Regions from separate parts of the Homo sapiens genome. Here region 1 is linked to region 2. The links are contacts of gene promoters, found by promoter capture Hi-C in blood cells and fetal thymus (Javierre and others, 2016). All regions are on one chromosome and are shown on one strand. Each heading gives the region's core, a stretch centred on a gene start or on the middle of the fragment in contact. The rest is flanking DNA. Distances are from core to core; before and after follow the strand shown.

The links. Contacts are between HindIII fragments. The CHiCAGO score rates a contact against its expected background, and 5 or more counts as called.
Region 1: a fragment that was not itself captured here is called in contact with the fragment with the promoter of OR6B3 in region 2 in 7 of 17 cell types (M0 macrophages, M1 macrophages, naive B cells and 4 more); the score reaches 10.5 in M0 macrophages.

What each region holds. Positions count from the first base shown.
Region 1 is chr2:239,039,561-239,043,344 of GRCh38, reverse strand. No RefSeq gene overlaps it. Among named protein-coding and RNA genes, the nearest start is that of MIR4440, 27 kb to the left of the region's middle. The HindIII fragment of the contact is 2,006 bases long and covers 1,380-3,385 here.
Region 2 is chr2:240,052,106-240,055,984 of GRCh38, reverse strand. OR6B3 (olfactory receptor family 6 subfamily B member 3) reads left to right here and starts at 2,464. Exons shown (of 3, transcript NM_173351.2): 1 at 2,464-2,525. RefSeq lists enhancers at 1-509, 510-1,152. The HindIII fragment of the contact is 11,088 bases long and covers 5-3,879 here.

The DNA.
Region 1 (3,784 bases), core at 1,133-3,632, 1.0 Mb after region 2:
TTCCCCAGGCTGTACAGGAAGCATGAGGCTGGCATCTGTTCGGCCTCCGGGGAGGCCTCAGGAAACGTCCAGTTATGGCAGAAGGGGAAGCAGGTACGTCTTCCATGGCTGGAGCAGGAGCAAGAGATGGGAAAGGGGCCACACACTTTGAAACAGCCAGATCCATGAGAGCTCATTCATTCACTCCACAGTACCGAGCGGGGATGGAGCTAAGCCATTCACGGAACTCGGCCCCCGTGATCTGATCACCTCCCACCAGGTCCCAGCTCCAACACTGGAGATGACAATTCAATGTGAGATTTGGCAGGGGCACAGACGCAAACCATATTCTATTCACAAACCAGTTACCAGGAAATTCATTCTAAATCTAGACTTCCTCTGTATTGTACCATCACAAAACCGAGTTTTAGTCAAAGCCAAGTTTGGTGGGCAGGTGGAGGAGGTTCCCATGATACTAGGAAGTTTGTTCCAGTAGTCCCAAGAACCATGCAAATCAAAAAAGCTGCGACAGGAAAATAGGTTTGTTATATCGTCTGTTTTAGGAAGACGTGTCTTCATGCAAAGTGTAAGCTCTGCGTGCACTGGAGGGTGGCTCCCCACTGCCAGTGACAGTCATGAAGAAGGAACATACGATTCGGGGCTAACAAACTCCTCACATCCAAACAGCAAGGCACACTGATTTTGAAAAGGAACATGGCCAAAGGCATTCTTTTGCCATGAAAAGTGTATTTCCAAGGAAAATGAGGGGCCCATTCGATTCTCTTTAAAGCACACACAGAAGTTGACTTTGTAAACAGATTTGAGCCCCTACACCTGCAACCTGTTTGAGTGAGAACGTCCTCATGAGCCTGTCGGCTTCCTACTATCCCACCCAGACAGCTTTCAGGAAAATGTTTAAAATCAAGATTGATGGAGTGATTAAAATGGGATGTATTTTTTTCTAGCAGAGAGCACCCTCCGGAATCACTACACCCGGAGATGAGAGGCTAGTGACAGACCCAACACAGGGCCCATATGGTGACAGTGGCAGTCTTGCCACTACCTTCGGTGAGTGCTCACGTGTGGGGCCTGGCGTCGACATGACTCAAATGTAAACCTTCCCAGGTTGCCATGACACTGGTGGGAGTGGGTGCCCTGAGGCTGGTGGAGGCGGGGAGGGTGGTTGACTTAACATTGATAAATGTGACTAAATAGAAATGTGAAAACTTCTAGGGCGATTTAATAACCCCAGTCTCAATGAATGGAACGTACCAAACCAAGACAGCCAGGGCCAGTGTTGACAATCTGTGCAATGATCGTAGAAATTTTTTAAAAACCATGGACAAATCCCAAAAGATGAGACACAACTGTGTGATAAACATACAGAAAACTAACAAGCTTTGTCTGTAGTTCTTAAAATTACAAGTAGCCGGGTACAGTGGCTCACGCCTATAATCCAGTACTTTGGGAGGCCAAACCGGGAGGATTGCTTCAGTCCAGGAGTTCAAGACCATCCTGGGCAACATGGTGACACTCTTACAAAAAATTTTTTTAAAAAATGAGCCGGGCATGGTGGTGCACACCCGTGGTCCCAGCTACTCAGGAGACTGAGGTGGGAGGATCGCTTGAGCCCAGAAAGTCGAGGCTTCAGTGAGCTGTGATCATGCCACTGCACTCCAGCCTGGGTGACAGAGTGAGACCCTGTCTCAAAAAATAAACAAAATAAAAATTGCAAGCAAAAGTAAAAGAGAAAAACGATTTGGGGCCTGTATATATTTCAACAATCTATCCCGTTAAATGCTGGGGAGGGTGTGTGGACACGAACGGCCCTCAGCACCATGGCTGGGGGACCGTCACCACGAGAGGCTGCAGAGCCCTTCAGAGCCTTGCAAACGGCTGTGCCCGGACCTGATTACACTTCTGGGCACCTGTGCCCAGGACACAAACCTAGTTACGGAAAACCTCTTGTGTCCAAAGACGCTCATTTCAGCATTATTGAATGAACAACTGGAAACACCTGGGAATATTTAACAGCTGGGAACTGGATGGTACTTAGGTGCTGGGTGAGTGGGCAGCGTCTGCGGCGGGCGACTGACCAAGGCCGCCCTGGGAGGCGAGACTCACAGAGGGCCGGCCACCCGTGGACCCTGCCTGTGTTAAGACAGTGTGAGGGAAAAGCAAACAAAAACCCAGCCATGCCTTCCGAGGAGTCTGCGGGGACAGGGGCTGAAATTTTCGAGCATCCTCTTCCAGATCTAGACTGTGGATCCCTAGGTTTCCCCTTTTCTGACGTCAGGAGTACACACCACCCTTAATTCATGGTATTCACATTCCTGAGAATCGACTTTAAAGCTGCCCTCCCTGCCTCGGCCACAGAACACGGTTTCCTCAAGGAATCAATAGCTGCCCCAAAGAAAAAGGTAAAATGCAGGGACAGTATTTTCTAGCACATTCCTCTGAGCTCCCTCACCCCCCATCCCAAAGGACATCCGGTCCCCATTCCCCCATGTGCAGAACACACCCAGAGGAGGCCTTGGCCTTAGTCAGGTGGGCAAAGCATCTCTCTCCCTGGGGGCTGTGTCTGTCTGGCCAGGCCGGCCAGGGCAGCCCTTGCCACCAGAGAGTCAGTAAAGCCACTTGGAGCCTCCAGTCATTTACAGTAAGAATGCCAGGCCCCAGGCATGAGGGTGACGCGGGCTGAACCACCTCACCTGACCTGCCACTCTTCCAGATGGGACTGTCCTGAGAATGGCATCAGGCAATGAGTATAAAGGCACTAAGTTCAGTTTCTGGCCACAAATGGCTATTGTCACTGTTGTTATGGACGCCACAATGCGTGCTTTGTTCTACAAAGTCCTTGTTTGGAAGATAGTTAACAGCAGTCTTAGGGGAGCCCCCGGGGGCCACTGAGATGCACCCCCAGCGCCCCTGCCAGACTGAGGCCACTTTCTACTTCCCAGCTCAGCCTCGGACTCAGCCTCCACCCCTTTCCAGAAACCACCCTCAGCTGGAGAGAGAGGGGTGCCTTCGGGGTAGCCCACACTTTAGGAGCAGTCCACGTGGGATTACAGAGGCCAGGCCCTCACTGTCATGCAGGGCAGGGCTGAGTCCATGGGGCCGGCTGAGGCCTCTGTTGAGACCGTGTCACGGCTCAGCACCTCCCTCTGCCCGGCTCTGCCACCTCCCTTCCTTCGCATGGGAGGAGCTCACCGGCACCCCCAGCGAACCCGGGGTCTCAGAGCCGCCTGCTGGAAGACCAAAACTGCACCATGAGAGAGGGGAGCAGAGGACACCCCCGTCCTTTTGGTGCCACAAATTCTAAGATAAATTTTAGAAAGGTGAAAACATGAGAAGTGCACATCTTGGACAAAAGAGCAGAATTATGAGCTCTCAGCTCAGTCAAGCTTCTTCATTTGCAAGGACAGAAACCCCCTGTGGCTGGGACCAAGGAGGATGGGGCGTTGAAAGACTGGGCATCTTGTGTCACTCCGGGCTTCACCTCGCCCAGCTCCCCCTGCCTCTGCCAGCCCTCCCAACTCCTCTGCCCTGGGCTCCTGCATTCCCCTACAGATCCTGGCAGAAACGGTCTCCCACACCCATATGCCCACTGCCACCGAACTGAGAGTCCTGCCTCGCGCCTTCTGCCCTCAAAAGAGAATCCGACTGGCATCTGTTCAGCTCTCCTCAGCCCACGCAGACACAGAACACATGCTTCACACAAGTGGGCCCACGGCTGTCTTGGAGACCAGCATCACGCTGACCGCCAGCATGGGAAAGCCAGCTCCATCCTGCCGGCTGGGCTCCT
Region 2 (3,879 bases), core at 1,215-3,714:
AGCTTTCAAGTAAAATACCTACTTACACTTCAAGACACCAGAAGTAAAAGGATGAAATGTTTTGGGAAATGGTAAACTGTGAAAGTACACCAAATTGTATCACTGTTTTCCTTCCTCCTGAGAGGCATCTGCTCCTGCTAGCTCTGTGCCACTTCCTTTCCAATTCTGCCTGCCCCATTAACATTGAGCTTCTGCCCCCAAACCCTCCCTGATATGTTTTCCCTCTGCCGTTACCAATGGCCTCCTACCTGCCAATCATGCTCCCTCCTCTTGGAGGAGCCACCGTGTCCTGGCTTGGGCCACACGTCCCCGAGTGTCTCCCCACGTCTCCCACCACCTTCACCAGCCCCTCTTCCTCCTCTTCCTGCTTCTAGAGGGGGAGGCTTCTCAACTTTTATTCTTGCCCTCTTAGTCTTCATATTTTCCTTGGTCAATCTCATTCACATCCCTGCAGGCAGCACAGATTGACTTCCTGGTGTCACTTTTGATTCTCAGGGACCCAGCCAGAAAGCCTCGTTGAGGCTGCCTTCAGCACACACCGGACAGGTTTGCCCTTCCCACGCCTCCTGCCCTGGCCTGCGCTCCTGCAGCCTTTTCCCTGATGACCTCAGGGTCTCTGCACGGGCTCCCCCTCCTCACCTGACTCCTCCAGCCCGATCTCAATGCAGTGGTCAGAGTCAGCCATTTACAGTGTGGGTGGTGCCATGCCACTGCCGTCAGAGTGAAAGCCAACGTCCTCACCATGGTCCTCACCACCTCAGGCTCTGAGTGGGCTCCTTCTGCTCTTGGTTGTCACTGTCTCCTGCCACTCCCTATCACTCTGCTGCAGCCAGCCTTGCCCCAACCCCCTGACCCCCTTCTTGCACTCCCCAGCCTGCAGCCTTTGCACCTCATTTTCTCTCCACCTACGTGTGTCCGACAGACAGCCACAGGCTAACTCACATCTTCTTTGAGACTCTGCCCTGGTGTCGCCTCCTCTCTGGCACATCCCCACCACCACCCCCCAGCCCACCCTGACCTTCTGTTCCCATCCACTCACCACCTTCCACACTCTAAATAATTTCCTTACATATCATGGGTATTATTTATTTTTCTGACTTATTTCCTGCCTTCACTAGAATTTACATTTCATGAAGGCAAGAGTTTGGGACTGTTTTTTTCTCCTGATTTATCTCAATTGCCTGAAACAATGACTGGCACATATTAGACACTTAATAAACCTTGGACCGACCCCCTACACATCTTGACATCTGACCTCAGTCTCTGGTGGGCGTTCTGGATGTCAGGGGTACTCCTGGAGCTCTCTACAGGGTGTCCCATAGGCGCTGCAAGCCCAGCATGCCCCAAACTAAGCCCCTCATCTTCCTCTCTCTCCTCAAGTGCACTTTCCCCCTCTGCAGGGAAACCCTAATGAAAGCAGAAGCCTGGAGGCACCCTGAAATTCCTCATCTCTGGGAGCAGCTAACAGTAGCATCGGGAGCTCAAGTGAGCCCATCAGGAAGAAGCTACGTCTGAGGCAAGTCCTGAAGGGCAACTGGCAGGGCAGCAGTGGGGACTGAATCAGCACGGTGCTCTCATGGCACTGAAGAGGTGCCTCCTGCAGCAGCCAGGGATTCCAGGAGGGGCAGGAGCAAGAGAGGCAGTGAGGCCATAGAGAGGCTGACTCAGGAGCAAGGGGCTTATGCTAAGAACATGCAATGGACGTGGCCAGGAGAGAGGTCTGCGTGTCATTCCCTGAATGTCATTCCCTGCTACTGGGATGATGGATCAGACAGAGTCAGGAGAGACTGGAGGAAGACCAGTGAGAGAGCGGTGACAATAATCCAGCCTGGGAGGGACGGAACCTGAACAAGGACAGGGTGGATGGCAGCCCATGAACGTGGAGACAGCAGACCTGATTCTGGAGGCATTTAAGATGTGGGGCAGAAGGACTCAGGCGTGCTCGGGTGTGGAGGGAGGGGAGGGGAAGGGTCCACACGGGAGCTCAGTGGGGCATCCGGGGGGCGTGGGCAGCCGCACCACTCCCTGAGAGGAAGAGCACAGGGGCAGGGGCTCCATGGCCAGGGGAGGTCTTGAGTCATTGGCTGGACACAGGAGTTAGTTCTGCAGAGGGATCGGGGCAGCCTGGGAGTCGTCAGCTGGAAGTGACTACAGGAACCGCAGGGGCGGGTACATTGTTCTGAGTGTGGACGGTGGGGACGGAAGGCTGGGGCCACAGCGCCAGACACTGAAGGAAAGGGGAGCAGAACAAGAGCCAAAATGTGGGCCCAGAAATGAGCAGAACGTCGCTGGCTTCTGGGGACAGCTAGTCCCCGAGGTGCACAGCGACAGAAGCCGCATGGCAGTGGGAGGAGGGAGTATAACTGCCTGTGAGTCTTTATGTATGGGAGGAAGAGACCTCATCAGAGGCATTCGTGGGAATGTGCACCCCAAGAAGACAGGGGACATGGGGACCCAGAGGTATCTGAGTAGGAGCAGAGACACATCATTGCCTGCCTCGCGCCCTGCCCTGCAGCTGCAATCAGGTAAGCAGTGGGCAGACGGGGCAGGTGCTCCCAGAGAGAGGGGCCATGCTGCGAGCAGGGTGCATCTTGCACTGTCCACAGGGTGCATTGTGAGTGCAGGACCTTGAACGGTGTTGCCTCAGATCTTCCAGCTTTTCAAAAGAAACCAGATATTGGTGCCTCTGTGTGAAATGTTCTGATTTTCAAAAACAAAGGTCAAAGTGAAAGTTTTAGAGAATTGTCCTTCTGAAACGTGCAGGATAAATGACATCCCAATATACCCAATATACAGGCGTGTGAGGAACTGGCTTGAGAGGTGCTCAGAAGCCACTGGAATTCTCGGTCTGCCCCACCATAAAATCTGTCTCCCTATTTATGTTTAAGAAGCGGTGGCTCATGCCTGTAATTCCAGCACTTTGGCAGGCTGAGGTGGGCGGATCACCGGAAGTCAAGAGTTCGAGACCAGCCTGGCCAACATGGCGAAATCCCGTCTCTACTAAAACAGACACAAAAATGAGCTGGGCACCTGTAATCCCAGCTACACGGGAGGCTGAGGTGGGAGAATCGCTTGAACCCAGCAGGCGGAGGTTGCGGTGAGCCGAGATCATGCCACTGCACTCCAGCCTGGGCAACAGAGTGAGACTCTGTCTCAAAAAAAAAGAAAAGTCACAAATAATCTTTAATTGGATTATTCTTTAAAAATCAGTGCTGAAAGGAAATCAACGAGCAGGCTATGCGTGTCGGGCCCACGGGCTTCCAGCTTGGGCTCTACCCTGTCGTGTCCACAGAACAGCAGCTTAGGAGAGGCTGGAGGACCGGCAGGCATCGCAGGCTCTGTCCATCTGAAATGCACTTTCTGATGTAACATATGAAGAACAGACCCGGTTGGTTTTTAGCATGGGTTTAATGAACTATCCTGACATCATGTTTAACACAATCCAGGCTTTCCTTGCTAATAGTATCACAGAAATCCTCAGCTCTGATGTAGGGCTTTCTATACTTTCTCTATGCTGTTCCATTGACTTTATGGTGGTGCTCGTTATCTTTAGTATTTATTTTATTAAATTATTATTTTATTTTTATTGTAGTTTTTCTATCCAAAATAGAAACGCCTCTTCATTAACCTGCTTCTCTTTTCTTCTTCCTGAATTATTTTAGCTATTCTCATCTGTTTATATTTCCAGATGATTTCAAGAATTATTTCATCCTGTTTCAAGAAAAATATAATTTGGTGAGATTTCAAATAGAATTGAGTTAAATTTCAAAATTGATTTGGAGATACTGACATTTTTACAATATACTTTTTTGAATCTAAGAATATTCTAATTAGTCATTGTTGGTATACAGGAAGACTACATTTTTGATATTCATTTTG